2 separate regions of the Homo sapiens genome follow, and region 2 is linked to region 1. Evidence: promoter capture Hi-C in human tissues and cell types (Jung and others, 2019). All regions are on one chromosome and are shown on one strand. The core of a region is centred on a gene start or on the middle of the fragment in contact, and the rest is flanking DNA. Distances in the headings are between cores, read along the strand shown.

What was found. The method cuts DNA at HindIII sites, captures the fragments that hold promoters and counts their contacts. A contact is called where the count stands out against the background at its distance.
Region 2: a contact is called between a fragment that was not itself captured here and the fragment with the promoter of HELZ in region 1, in 1 of the 25 tissues and cell types used here (adrenal gland).

The regions. Positions count from the first base shown.
Region 1 is chr17:67,241,867-67,249,294 of GRCh38, reverse strand. HELZ (helicase with zinc finger) reads left to right here and starts at 4,099. Exons shown (of 33, transcript NM_014877.4): 1 at 4,099-4,147; 2 at 5,456-5,511. It overlaps HELZ-AS1 (HELZ antisense RNA 1), which reads right to left and starts at 4,519. Exons shown (of 4, transcript NR_136398.1): 1 at 4,087-4,519. RefSeq lists silencers at 3,082-3,281, 3,292-3,381, 3,932-4,421, 4,522-4,571 and enhancers at 2,901-3,887, 3,888-4,875. The HindIII fragment of the contact is 25,130 bases long and covers 1-7,428 here.
Region 2 is chr17:67,449,765-67,457,188 of GRCh38, reverse strand. All of the region lies in intron 1 of PITPNC1 (phosphatidylinositol transfer protein cytoplasmic 1), which reads right to left. It also overlaps the pseudogene RN7SL756P. Among named protein-coding and RNA genes, the nearest start is that of MIR548AA2, 18 kb to the left of the region's middle. The HindIII fragment of the contact is 3,857 bases long and covers 2,122-5,978 here.

The sequences.
Region 1 (7,428 bases), core at 2,850-5,349:
CCTCTGCCTCCCAGGTTCTAGCGTTTCTCCTGCCCTGGCCTCTGGAGTAGCTGGGATTACAGGCGCCCACCACCACGCCCAGCTAATTTTTGTACTAAGGCAAATGACCAGGGAGTGTAGTTGTAGAAGAGAAACCCAAGGACTGAGACTTGGGACTCTCCAAGCAGAAAATGAAGGCACTGCGGCCGGGCACAGTGGCTCACACCTGTAATCCCAGCACTTTGAGAAGCCGAGGCGGGTGGGTCACTTCAGGCTAGGAGTTCGAGACCAGCCTAGTTAACATGGTGAAACCCTGTCTCTACTAAAAATACAAAAATTACCTGGGCGTGGTGGTGTGTGCCTGTGGTGCCAGCATTCGGGAGGCTGAGGCAGGAGAATCGCTTGAACCCAGGAGGTGGAGGTTGCAGTGAGCCAAGATCGCGCCACTGCACTCCGGCCTGGGTGACAGAGAAAGACACTGTTTCAAAAAAAAAAAAAAAAAAGAAAAGAAAAGAAGCCACGGCCAGTGGGAGCAGAGGAGAAAGAAAAAATGTGGGAAGGAAGAGGGATGTGATGTCGGGGGGATCAGTTAGTTAGGGCTGTGTGTGTTCATGAGATCAGAATCAGAATTGAGCTAAATCAGTGGTGGCCAAGGGACCTGTTTTCCCTCAACACTGTTCCTTTCTGCCTGCCTCTAGCTGTGTGTGGTCAGTGGTCTGAAGAGATGCGAGGCAGGGCCCTCAGCATCTCACTTCACACTTTAGCACTCCTTTTCATCAACACGCCCATCCCTGAGAGAAGTTTGGTCATGTACTCGACTAATACTTGGTGAGCGTCTATGTATGTGCCAGGCCCTGGTCTAGTCACTGAGGCAAATAAGCCAGACAGAGCCTGTGCCCAGAGGGAGCATATGATCAAATGGGGGCGGGGCAGATAAGAAACAACTAACAACAGGCAAACAAGAGAACTTTTTTTTTGAGATGGAATTCTCACTCTGTCACCCAGGCTGGAGGGCAGTGGCACGATCTTGGCTCACTGCAACCTTGGCCCCCCAGGTTCAAGCAATTCTCCTGCCTCAGCCTCCCGAGTAGCTGGGATTACAGGCGCGCTGTAATTTTTGTACCTTTAGTAGAGACAGGGTTTCACCATCTTGGCCAGGCTGGTCTTGAACTCCTGACCTTGTGATCCACCCACCTTGGCCTCCCAAAGTGCTGGGATTACAGGCATGAGCCACAGCGTCCGACCTAAACAAGAGAACTTCTAACACAGGTCAAGTGTTCAGAGTGACTTGGTCTGGGTAGGGGGATCACAAAAGTCCTCTTTGAGGGGACCTAAATATGATGAAAAGATGATGGGTCGGGCGTGGTGGCTCACGCCTGTAATCCCAGCACTTTGGGAGGCCAAGGCGCATGGATCACGAGGTCAGTAGTTCAAGATCACCCTGGCCAAGATGGTGAAACCCTGTCTCTACTAAAAATACAAAAATGAGCCGGGCGCGGTGGCGGACGCCTGTAATCCCAGCTACTCAGGAGGTTGAGGCAGAGAACAGCTTGAACCTAGAAGGCGGAGGTTGCAGTGAATTGAGATCGCGCTACTGCACTCTAGCCTGGTCGACAGAACAAGACTCTGTCAAAGAAAAGATAATCAGAAGATCTGGGGGAATAGGGTTCTCACTGGAAGGAAGCTTGGGGCGCTGCAGGGAAAGAGAGAAGGCCAGCCTGGACCACTGCTGGTGAGGGAAGGTGGGACCACCTCACACAGGAGCTTGTAGGCCAGGGTTGGGAATCTGGGTTTTATTCCAAGGTTTCAGCAGAGAAGTCTCGATCTGATTTACATTCATAAAATATCACAGGGTTGGTCAGGTGGAGGATGCATTGTAGGTATCCAGGAGGGGCAGGGAGAAGAGTCGGCAGGCCGTCCCAGCTCAGGCAACAGGCGGTGTATTTGACAAGGTTGGGCTTGGATGCACACACTGGAGGCAGTGAATGGGTTGGGCAGTCACACAAACTGAACACTTATTTGGGTCAATGCCTATACAAGGCAAAGAAAGGCTGCTTATCAAAGAAACGTGTTTGGGAGACACAGTCCTTGCCCTCAACTTATTTCCTGTTTACTTATATTAGGTGGGTGCAAAAGTCACTGCGGCTTTTGTCATTACTTTTGCATAAACTCAGACCACATACCTAAAGGTGCCATGCAAACAAAACCACCATTAAGCCAGTGCATACCAGTGGCTAAATAAGTGCAAAAGAGGAATTGGAAAAGAAGCACCTGGGGTACCCTGGAAAGAGACATTGGAGCCTTCTTCAGACGGGCCAAGCATTCCCTTTTCCAGCAGGAGGGGCGCTGCCTCCCCCCAGCCTAGCCCATGCCCTTGGTGGCTACCTTGCTGGGCCGTCTAAGAACCTGGCTCCAGGCTCCAGTTTCTCCACTTATTCCGAGGTGAGAAGCAGGTGACTCAGGGGAGGTTGCTCCCCAGCACGCTGCGTTCTTGGCTGGGAATGACTCACTACCTCGTTCCCTCCTTCACGAGTGACCCGGGGCCAATCCCTTAATGTGTCTACACCTTCTCATCAGACCGGGACAATTGCCTGGTGGAGTTTTTGGCTCCCCAGGGGCAGGGCTCCTGTCTGCCACCGTTCACGTTCCTAGTGAGGCTGTTGATAGGGTCTGGAGGAGCGTAAAATCCTCGGGTAGATCCAAGGCCCCAGGCCCTCCCCGTGCACCGAAAGAGGGTTTTAATGCCAGTGCTTCTGCGGTCTTCTAAAGGTAGAGCCGTTCAACAGCATTTTGTACCGAATACAATTCGCAAGCATTCCTGTCTTGGAGAATTTTCTTTTGGGTATCTCCTTGTTGTAAAAACTTGCTTGGAAAAAAAAAAAAGCAACTGGAGCAGGCCTCCAAAGACAGCAAAGCAGGGACCAGAGGCTCTGCGGAGAGCGCGGGAGGAGGCTGACCAAGGGGCCTCCGTTGCTGGGGGGACCTGGGCGGCTGGACGCCGGGGTCAGTACGCTGCTCGCCCCGCGCAGCCGAAAGCGGGCGTGGTGTCGCGGGGAGAGGATGCCCGGCAGCAGTGTGGCCGGCGGGCTGGGGGTACTCGCCCGGGTCAGAGACCTCAGCCCGCGCCAAGGCGCCCCACACTTTCCAGCGCAGCGGGTCGCAGCCCGGAGACGCCGGGCGTCCCCACCTCCAGCCTCCCGAGCTGCAGCGGCGCCCGCGGTTCTCCCCCGACCCGCCAGGTGGACCCGGACTGGCGCACCCTGCTTTCCGCCCGGGACCCTCCCCCGAGCCCTGGCTGCCTCCGCGCCCCGCCCCGCCCGGAGCCCGCAGCCGGCGCCCCGGATTACCTGCCCCGGAGTCACAGTCCGCAGCCCGGACGCTCCCAGGGTGGCTCCGCGGAGCCTGGAGCCACATTCCTAGGGGAGGGGTCCCCACCTAGAGGGTCGCGGATCACGTTACCCGCCCGGAGGAGGAGACCGCGGGACACAGAGTAAACAAGGGGTAAAAAGTTGCATTTGGCTCAATTTTTTTTTTTAAATCGTGCTTCGACGCTGGTGGACTCGGGGACACGGCGTCCTCCCAGTTCCCGGAGCCCAACGGCCCCGGGGCGGTTTCCCAGGGCAGAGGCACCTCTCCGGGCGGCGGGTGCGGAGCTGGTCTGCGCGGCCTCTGAAGGCGACCCCGGCCGCTCGCGGGCTTCCTGGAAGCGCGGCCGCAGGAGCAGAAACGCTCACATCCACGCGCACAAATAAATCCGCGAGCAGCTCCGCGCCGCGCCGCGGGCGGCAAGGAAACCTCGGGTTGATTCAATGCAGACGCGGGGCGTCTGCCCGGGCAGGAACGCGGCGAGGCGAGAGGACCGGGCGTGGGGGCAGGGAGGCCGGGGCAGGAGAAAGGGAGAAAACCCCAAAGCCACGTTTTAAAAATGCGGGTGAATTTTCAATGCCGTCAGCCCGGGGGAGGGGAAGGGGCCAGCTGCGGGCGCCGGGGTCGGCAGTCCACCCGGGGCAACTTTCCGGGCGGGAGGCGCGGCCGGAGGGGGCGGCGCCGGCGGCGGGAGGCGGGAGTCGGGGGCCGGGGGGAGTCACTTTAAAGGCTCTTTCTTACCCATAATGCTTTGTGGGGACGTTGACAAGTGGATCCAAGATGGCGTAGAAAGTAATGACAGGTAAGTCCTGACTTCCCCCTTCTCTGCTCCTGGGGCCGCTCCGCGAGCTCCCGGAGCTCTCCGGGGAGGGGACCCGACTCCCCTCCGGTGTCCCGGACCCCGGGCGCGGCGGCCCCGGGGCAGGCTGGGGGCCTGGGCGGCCCGCGGCTGGGCCTGGGAAGCGCGGCTCTTCGAGGCGAGGCCCGGACGCTGGGGCTGTTTACAGCTTCTTCCCCTACTTAGTCCCCTTCCCCTCCGCTGGGGCCCGCAGCGTCCTGGGCCCTGGCAGGAGAGGGGGCCTTGCACGCCTGGCCCGGGAGCCTGCGGGAGGTTTCTCCGGCCCAGAGCACTCTGGGAGGGGGACTCGAGCCTCCCGGCACGTTCCCCTCCTCCGGGTCGCGGCTGGGGGTGGGGAGCGTGCGGGCCTCCCACGCCCCGCTCGATGCCCCCCCTCAGGCCTCGGACTTCCACCGGGTGGGGTGGGGGCTGGAGCGGGGGCGTGGGGAAAAGTGGGTCAGGCGTGCGCCCCCTCCCTCCCCCGCGGAGGGCTCTCGGCCCGAGATTCACTTTCTTCCCCCCTTTCCCCGCCCCCTCCTCGGAAATGCTCTTTGGCCCACAAGCACATCAACAAAAATAAAGATAGGCTCTCTTTTCCTGGAGATTCCTTGAGAGTACTCCAGTACCCTTTTCAAGGGCTCACAGACTGCAGTCTTACCTAGGGAACTTCGATTCCTCTCCCCTAAATTATTGGAGCCTTCTGCACCCTCGCCTTTGCTGAGAAATCTTCAGACAGGGCTGGAAGCCAGGGTCCTCTGATTGTTCTTGGATCGGGATCCTCAGGTTTTGTTTGCAGTTCAAAAATTGTCATTCCTTCTCCCTCACAACTTAACACTTCTCAGGCAAATCATTAATATAATAAAAAGTGTAACTTCAGAGACAGTGGATTCCTGGAGCGGGGGAAGGAGGGAGGAGTTGTCTGTCTTGCCTAGTTTGTTCTTAATTTTGCTCTCTCTTAAACTCATATTAATGAAATTTCCTCTCCTTCATTTCTTTATGTTTTTGAAAGTAAGGTCAGTCTGTGTTGAAAAAGATGATTTTATTATGTTTTTGAGTTTTAAGAGCATTGTATAATCTATTCTTTTACCTTACTGAAAGGAAATGTTTTAAGGTCAAAAACCAGACTCATTTGCAAAGCTGCACACTGTACCATTTTTGTAACTTTTTCCATTTTAAATGTAGATGCCCTTTCACTTCAGGCTGATAAAATGTTTGCTACTGATAATGTCTGTTACTGGTGTTGTATGGAAACATCTTTTCTATTTGCCTCAGGATTTGGATGAAGTAATGGATCACTAATGAACTACAGTGCTGGTGAGATGTGTAAGGTGAGACTGCAGTTAAAAATGATTTCCTTTTTTTCCTTCTTTATTTTAATCAACTGGTAAGAGTAAGGCTGAAACTGAGTAATTTGATGGGGCCATCTTTGTTTTCCAAATGTATCACTCAGTCAGTGGGTCTATGGGCAGGGCTAGATTTAGAAAGGAAAAATATGTTGAATGTACCAATCTTTTCAGTTGCTCCAACATACTCAAACATAGTGGTACTTAACTAAGAGCCAAATGTTACTTGCAGCTATTCTTGATCAGTATCTTCACCAGGGATAATTATAGTTTGCCTATTCAAATTTTCTTGCGTAACTTTACTTGGATGTCTTAATTTTATTTGTGTTTTGGTGTCTATCACCTACTGTACGTTTAGTCCCGGTGATTATGTATATGGATTTTGTGTGTACCTGGTTTGTGGGACTCGTAAAGTATACCCTTTCCGTTAGAAAGAATTAGGCAGGTCAATCACTCCTGCTTTTATTTTCTGAAAAATGGAGTAGTACTTTTCTCTTTAATAATTATTTTGAAATAAAGATGATAGTGTTGAGATCTGTTTAGCTTATTAGGAAATAGACTAGTTTGTCATTATGTCCTGATCACACACGGTGTGTGAATTTATTCAAAGTGCTTTATTTAATCTAATTTGTAATGCTTTGGATTTAAAGGATATTATTGATACAGTGTTAGTGAATAGTTTTCTGTGCTATAGAGAGGAAGAGAAGTTTGCTACTTTTACATTTTTCACGAGTTTTCTCAACTTAAAATGTTTTACTAAGTTTTTTTTTAGAAAAATAATAAGTAATTGTGGTCGATTGGTTACTGTAGTTTTTTTTTTGTTGTTTCTCCACACATCTGGGCCTCTGGATTTTGAAATCCTCTCACAAATTTTTCGTGTCTATCACAACATCTGTTTAAGAAGAATAAGCTATCCTTTTTTTTTTTTCTAGATTGAGGCATGTAATTGACATTTTGCCTTAAAAAAATAAAAACTTAGGAAAGGAAGGTGGACATAAACCAAGATTCTTTTGTAAGTGCACATACTGCATTTTCTTGTGTTTGAAACTCAGCAGTGCTTATGTTTATTTCATATAATTTTTATTTTTGGCAGAGCAAATATGGATTTTTAAATTTATTTTTATTTTGCAGATGGAGGCATATTCCTGCCTTAGACCTCCCAATTTGAACTTTATATATGTGTGTATATATACATATATGTGTGTATATATACATATATGTGTGTATATATACATATATGTGTGTATATATACATATATGTGTGTATAGATATGTGTGTATATATGTATATATGTGTATATATGTGTGTATCTATGTATATAGATAGATAGATTTTTTTTCTTTTTTTTTTTTTTTGAGACAGAGTTTCACTCTTGTTGCCCAGGCTGGAGTGCAATGACGCGATCTCAGCTCACTGCAACCTCTACCTTCCAGGTTCAAGCAATTCTCCTGCCTCAGCTTCCCGAGTAGGGATTACAGGCTTACGCCACCACACCCGGCTAATTTTGTATTTTTAGTAGAGAGAGGGTTTCACCATGTTGGTCAGGCTGGTCTCGAGCTCCTGACCTCAGGTGATCTGCCCGCCTTGGCCTCCCAAAGTGCTGGGATTACAAGCGTGAGCCACCATGCCTGGCCTTATCTTTTTTCTTGAAGCCTACAGATAATTTTGTGGAAAGGAGCCAGTGGTCTGCTTTTTGACTGTGGAGATGTTTGTTTGTAGTCTAAAATGGAATACTTAGAAGTAGGTAATCTTGTGTGGCTAGTGTTGTTTGACCTGAATTGTGTCAAGACATTTTCCACAGTTCTCACACATGTAGACTCTGTGAAGTGTTAGTATTCATTTCAAAGCGAAGTTAGTGGTTGGCCACTGAACAACTTGTTACACAAAGTATTCTAAAATGG
Region 2 (7,424 bases), core at 2,801-5,300, 210 kb before region 1:
ACAGGTATCCACACTAGGTTTGGCATCAATATGGTGATCTCCCAGGATCAGGGGACCACCAGGCTGCCTAAGGAGGGGTGAAGTGATAGCCCAAGTCAAAACTCCTGTGCTGATCAGTAGTGGCCACTGCACTCCAGCCTGGCCAACATAGTGAGACCCCATTTCCAAATAAATAAGAAAAAAGAGGGTTGAGAAGTTGAGAAAACAAATGAGGAAAAGAAAAGTTGAGAAGACAAAGAAATACTATCTTCAGAGGGTTGAGGGGAGATTCTATACTAAGCTAAAAGAGAGTCATTGAAAGATGAGGACAAAGAAGCTGTTTTTAAACAAGAACTAAGTACATTCACAGGCTCTTACTAAAATGCACTAAAGTATATATTTTCAGAAAATAAAATGTGTACATAAAAGAGTACTTAGAAAGACGAGTAAAGACCCTAGTAAATAAAAATATATACAGTTTGGGCTGCACAAAACAACAAAAATAACAGTGAATAAAATACAAAATACAATAAAATACCAAAAAAGGAGAAATTAAAACACTAAATAAGAAAAAAACTGGGTGGGGGAGGTGATAGGGTAATTTCTGACTGCTATTTAAGTATACACATTGAATATTTTTAGGATAACAAAGCTAGTAGAGAGAAAAAGAGAAAACCTGGTAAAACTCAATTCAGTAGGAGACAGGAAATGGAGAAAAAACAGAAAAAGTATGGGAAATAGAAAGCATGAAATAAGACAAATAATTCAAAAAACATCAACAATTGCTATAAATGCAAACAGACTGAAATAGCTGGTTAAAAAACAGGTTATTAATAGCTGGTTTAAAAACCCAGACTCGAGATTTTTTTCTTAATTTAGCTATAAGCTATTTACAAGAGGCCCATCTAAAATACAACAACATACAAAACTTAAAAGTAGAGACATTAGAAAACATGTACCAGACAGAAACTGACCAAAAAGGGGAAGAAGACTGGAAGGGCTATATTAATATCAGTAAAAGCCTAAGGTAAAAGCATCATTAGGATCAACTGGTTCTTTACAGCCCACTTACTGGTTCTTAAGAATTAGACAAGTTACTTAAAGTTTTTGAGCCAGTTTCCTCACTTGTAAAATGGGATGATAATAATAGACTTGTTTTTGAATCTGGAATGTGTTTTTTAAAAGTAACAAATGCAAATACAGCAAAATGTTAACACCGATTTAATCTTTCTGCTGGGTACATAAGTGTACGTTTCATTATTATCTGTACATGTTTTATATATTTGAATTGTTTTTAAAATAAGAATGTTTTAATTTTTTAAGTTCACAAACCCAGTAACCAAGTAAAAATATAAGAGGGGCATTGAAACAACAGTGCTCCATACATCATCTGGGAATGACTAACTATACAACTTTCCTAGGAGACAACTTTGCAAGATACACCAAAGCTTTAAAAATGTAGATACCCAGCTGGGAGCGGTGGCTCACGTCTGTAATCCCAGCATTTTGGAAGGCCGAGGCAGGTGGATCACTTGAGGTCAGCAGTTCGAGACCAGTCTGGCCAACATGGTGAAACCCCATCTCTACTAAAAATACAAAAAAAACAAAAAAAAACAAAAAAAACTAGCTGGGCATGGTGGTGCGCACCTGTAACCTCAGCTACTCTGGCGCTGAGGCAGGAGAATCGCTTGAACCCAGGAGTCGGAAGTTGCAGTGAGCCGGGATTGCATCACTGCACTCCAGAGCGAGAGTCTGTCTCAAAATAAATAAATAAATAAAAATGTAGATACCCTGTCACCCAGTGATTAAATTTTGTAATTTATCCCAAGGAATGAATCAAGAGATGTGTATAAGCATGTATGTACCAGGTTATTGCTGAGTTCAGTCTAATGGTGAAAAATTCAAAACAGCATTAATGTTGTTGGAAATTGCTTTAGTAAATTTTAACACAGTATAACAGAATAGTATGTGGCCATTAAAATTCAGGTTATAGAAGAATATTAATGACAAGCATTGCATATTAATAGGTGAAAAAGATACAAAGCAGTATGCATAGTATGGGCTTGGGTTTTACTTTGAAATATGTGTAGGCTGGGTACAGAGGCTCACACCTGTTAACCCAGCACTTTGGAAAGCCAAAGCAGGAGGATCACTTGAGCTCAGGAGTTCAAGACCAGCCTGGGCAACATAGCAAGACCCCATCTCTACAAAAAATAATAAAAATTAGCCAGGCCTGGTGGCATGCAGCTGTAGTCCCAGCTACTCAGGGGGCTGAAGTGGGAGGATTGCTTGAGCCCTGGAGGTGGAGGCTGCAGTGAGCTGTGATTGCACCAGTGCACTCCAGCCTGGGTGACACAGTGAGACCCTGACTCAAAAAAAAAAAAAAAAAGGAAAATAAAAAATAATGAAATATGTGTATTATGTACACAATTGTCTGGAAGGCTATGGGGCAACATACTACTCATGAAACGTCTCTGGATGGTGGAGATTCTGAATGGCTTTTGTTTTATTGTGCTTTTTTGTGTTTTCCAAGTTTTCTGCAGTGAACATATGGTGCTTTGCAATTAGGAAAAAAGCAATCATCGTTTCTAAAGTAAACGGCAATAATTCAAGTTCATACTCCAATGCAGGGTCCACAAACTATATCCTGCAGGCCCTGCCACCCGTTTTCATACTGCCCATGACTTAAGAATGGTTTTACATTTTTAAATGGTTGAAAAAAAATCAAAAGAAGAATAAAAAGTATAATATGTCATTCTAAATCTTTGTGTTTAATCTATACAGCAACTCTGTGAAATAGGTACTATTATTCATTTTATAGATCAGGAAACCAAAGCTTTTAGATGGGTTATGTAAGTAGTGAAAGATCACATAGTTAATAAGTTGTTGAGCTGGAATTCAGACCCCAGAGTCTTACCCTAGAGCCTGTCCTCTTTTGGGTTTTGTTTTTTTTTTTTTGAGAACGGAGTCTTGCTCTGTGTCCCAGGCTATAGTGCAGTGGCACAATCTTGGCTCACTGCAACCTCTGCCTCCCGTGTTCAAGCGATTCTCCTGCCTCAGCCTCCCAAGTAGCTGGGATTACAGGTGCCCGCCACCAGGCCCAGGTAATTTTTGTATTTTTAGTAGAGACGGGGTTTCACCATGTTGGCCAGGGTGGTCTCCAACTCCTGACCTCAGGCGATCTGCCCGCCTTGGCCTCCCAAAATGCTGGCGATTACCGACGTGAGCCACCACGCCCAGCCCGAGCCTGTACTCTTAATGTGCTTCCCCCATGTGAAAAGTTCCCCAACAAATCAAGGGCAAATCAAGCCAGTACATTCTGGTGAATTCTCAGGAGGGAAGACCACTGCATATCAGAGAAGCTTTGTAGAAGAATGAGGCCACATTTCTACCATGATGATAGGAAACATTAACTCTGAACTTCCAATTAAGCAAAATGTTTTCCTCCCTCAAATAATTCAATTCTTCTCATTAGCAGACTTGTGTTACAGAAAATCGTACCCCATTACTATGTTTGGAGTTTCATCGATAAAAATTCATGGAAATTTGTTTTGTCTGTCGTTATGTAAGCACCTCCACAACGTCGCTGATGTTTTCTCTTGGCCCACAAAGCCTGACATATTTGTTTACTCTCTTTACAGAAAATGTTTGCAGACCCCTGCTCTAATTAACACAAAGAAAGAGGGCAGAGGGGAGTGGCAGGCGGTCACGGTATTGATGAGAATAATTCCCCACACCTGGAACTACAGAGTAGCCAATAACCCAGCTGGTTCTCTCCCAAGCTGCTCCACAAGCTCTTAGTCATTTCGAGATTGAGTTTCTTTCCTCCTCCTGCTCTGTCTATATTTTCTCCATTACCTCTCACCAAGGGGTAAGCAAAGCAAAGGAAAAAAAAGTAAAACTTAGTTCACTCAAGTTTAATACTACTTAGAAACTGACAAAAGGGAAGAGATTTGACTGGTACCTCATCTTTTGAGTTGATTCACCACTGTTTTCTGTTACCTAAAATATTTGAAAATTGGCCACTCCTACAAAGTATCAGTTTGCTCATTCACTCAACAAACCCTAAGCATTTTCCATGTACCCTGCCCCCGGACACAATACTGGATCAATCAGCTAGACAGAGTAGCTCACAGGTGAGCAGAAGCTTTATATATATAACAGCACAACACAACATGTTCTATAATGGAAAGCAGTTTTAAAAGAGTACAGGAAATGCAAAGTAAAACCACAGTGAGATACCACCACACACTCATTAGAATCGCTACAAACAAAAGACGGATAATACCAAGTACTGACAAGGATGTGGCAAACCCAAAACGCTCATATGTTGCTAGTGAGAGTAAAAAAATGCAAGAACTACTTTGGAAAACAGCCTGGCAATTTCTTTATAAGTTAAACATAAGTTTAATATAAGACCCAGTGGCCAGGCCCAGTGGCTCACGCCTGTAATCACAACACTTTGGGAGGCCGAGGTGGGTGGATCATGAGGAGTTCGTGACCATCCTGGCCAACATGGTGAAACCCTGTCTCTACTAAAAATACAAAAATTAGCTGGGCGTGGTGGCGCACGCCTGTAGTCCCAGCTACTTGGGAGGCTGAGGCAGGTGAATCACTTGAACCCAGGAGGAGGAGGTTGCAGTGACTCCAGCCTGGCGACAGAGTGAGACTCCATCTCAAAAAAAAAAAAAAACCCCAGCAATTCCACTCCTTAAAGTATCTTCCCAAGAGGAACGAAAGCACATGTCCATCCAAGAATTGTATACAAATGATCACAGCAGCAATATTCACAGTAGCCCCGAATTAGAAACAAATCTCTATCAACTGGTGATGAATAAACAAAATGTGGTACATCCCTATAATGGAATGCTATTAGCAGTAAAACAAGAACCAGCTATTGGCCAGGCATGATGGCTCCCGCCTGTAGTCCCAGCACTTTGGGAGGCTGAGGCAGGCAGACTGCTTGAGCTCAGGAGTTCGAGACTAGCCTGGGAAACATAGTGAGACCCCCGTCTATACAAAACAAAAATACAAAAATTAGCCAGGTGTGGTGGCATGTGCCTGTAGTCCCAGCTACTCAGGAGGATGACGTTGGGAGGATCACTTGAGCCCAGGAGGTGGAGGCTGCAGTGAACTGTGATTGCACTCTAGCCTGGGTGATCACAGTGAGACCCTATCTCAAAAAACAACAACAAAAAAAAAACCCAACCACTGATGCATTCAACAACACGAATGAACTCAAAAACTTTATGTTGAGTAAAAGAAGCCAGTCTCGGCCAGGCGTGGTGGCTCAGGCCTGTAATCCCAGCACTTTGGGAGGCCGAGGTGTGCGGATCACGAGGTCAGGAGATTGAGACCATCCTGGCTAGCATGGTGAAACTCCATCTCTACTAAAAATACAAAAATTAGCCAGGCGTGATGTGGGCACCTGTAGTGCCCGCTACCCTGGAGGCTGAGGCAGGAGAATGGCATGAACCCGGGAGGCGGAGATTGCAGTGAGCCGAGATCGCGCCACTGCACTCCAGCCTGGGCGACAGAGCGAGACTCTGTCTCAAAAAAAAACAAAACAAAAAAAAAAAAGGTCAGTCTCAAAGGACTACATGTTGTATAATTTTTATACGAAATTACTAGAAAAGACAAAACTATAGAGACGTAAATCACATCACTAGTTGCCGGGGATCAGGGTAAGAGCAAGAACTGACCACAAACAGGCAAGGAGGATGTTTAGGGGGGAATGGAAAGTTCTAAAACTGGACTGCGGTGATGGCTGCACAGATGTATGGATTTACTAAAACTTAAGAGCTTTTGTTGTTTTACTGAAACTTATTCATTTTACACTTAAGATAGGTGAGTTTATCATGTGCAAAAAAGAATTTTTAGCCAGGCACGGTGGCTCACACCTGTAATCTTAGCAGTCTGGGAGGCCAAGGTGGGTGGATCACCTGAGGTCAGGAGATCGAGACCAGCCTGGTCAACATGGCAAAACCCCGTCTCTACTAAAAATACAAATATTAGCTGGGTGTGATGGCGCGCGCGTGTAGTCCCAGCTACTCAGGAGGCTGAGGCAGGAGAATTGCTTGAACCCAGGAGGCGGAAGTTGCAGTGAGCCAAGATCGTGCCACTGCACTCCAGCCTGAGTGACAAGAGTGAAACTCTGTCTCAAAAAAAGGAAAAGAAATTAGATTCTGATATGGGCTACAGCTGAACCTTGAAAACATGCTAAGAAAAAGACGCCAGATACAGAAGAACACATAATATTGATTCTACTTTTATGAGGTACCTAGAATAGGCCAATTCATAGAGGCAGAACATAGGATAAAGGTTACCAGAGGGTGGGGGAAGGGGACATTGGGGAGTTAGTGTTTAATGGGTGGAATTTCTATTTGGAATGATGAAAAAGTTCTGAAAGTGAACAGTGATGATGGTTGCCCAGCATTGTGAAAATACTTAATGCCACTAAATTGTACAATTTACAATGCTTAAAATGGGCCGAGCATGGTGGCTCACACCTTCCCAGCACTCTGGGAGTCTGATGCGGGTGGATCACTTGAGCCCAGGAATTTGAGACCAGCCTGGGCAACACAGCGAAAATCTCGTCTCTACTAAAACTACAACAAATTAGTGGGCACGGTGGTGTGCGCCTGTAGTCCCAGCTACTCGAGAGGCTGAGGTGGGAGGATCGCTTGAGCCGGAGAGGGTGAGGCTGCAGTGAATTGTGATCACACCACTGCACTCCAGCCTGGGTGACAGAGCAAGGCTTCGTCTTCAAAAAAAAGAAACTTAAAATGGTAAATTTTTATCTTATACGTATTTTACTACAGCTTTTTTTTTTTTAACGAAGTCTCCCGTGCACCTTCAGGAGGAAGAGGGGCCTGTGACTTGCCTGTGGGCTCACTTTCAGGTGGCTATTTCTTCATCAGTTGAGTTCTTAACTGTCTCTAATTGATAGCAATTGAAGAAAACGCAGTTTGCATTCACACAGCCCATTGTCCAAATGCCTAAAGACATTAATTTGAAAAATACTGCAAGATTCATGAAACTGATTCTAAATTTACTTCTAAATCATAAGAGCAAACCTGAAATGTGGTTTTAATTGGGTTTACAGGAAGTATAAGTGTTGTTTATGTGACTTGTTCTTCTGTTTAACTGTTGGTAATCACTGGCTACTGCGCTTATCTCATTGCCAGACAGACAAGCAGTTAAGTAATTAAAATATTCAAAATCTGGCTCAGTGGCTCACCCCTGTAATTCCAACATTTTGGGAGGCCAAGGCAGAAGGATCGCTTGAGGCCAAGAGTTCAAGACCAGCCTGAGCAACATAGTGAGACCCCCATCTCTGCAAAAAGAATTTTTTTAAAATCTGAGCTAACAGAAAAAGAGTTTGTTTCCAATGCTTTCATTTTAACACTAACTGTGATAGAGGCATCAAAGAATTAACCTTTTAA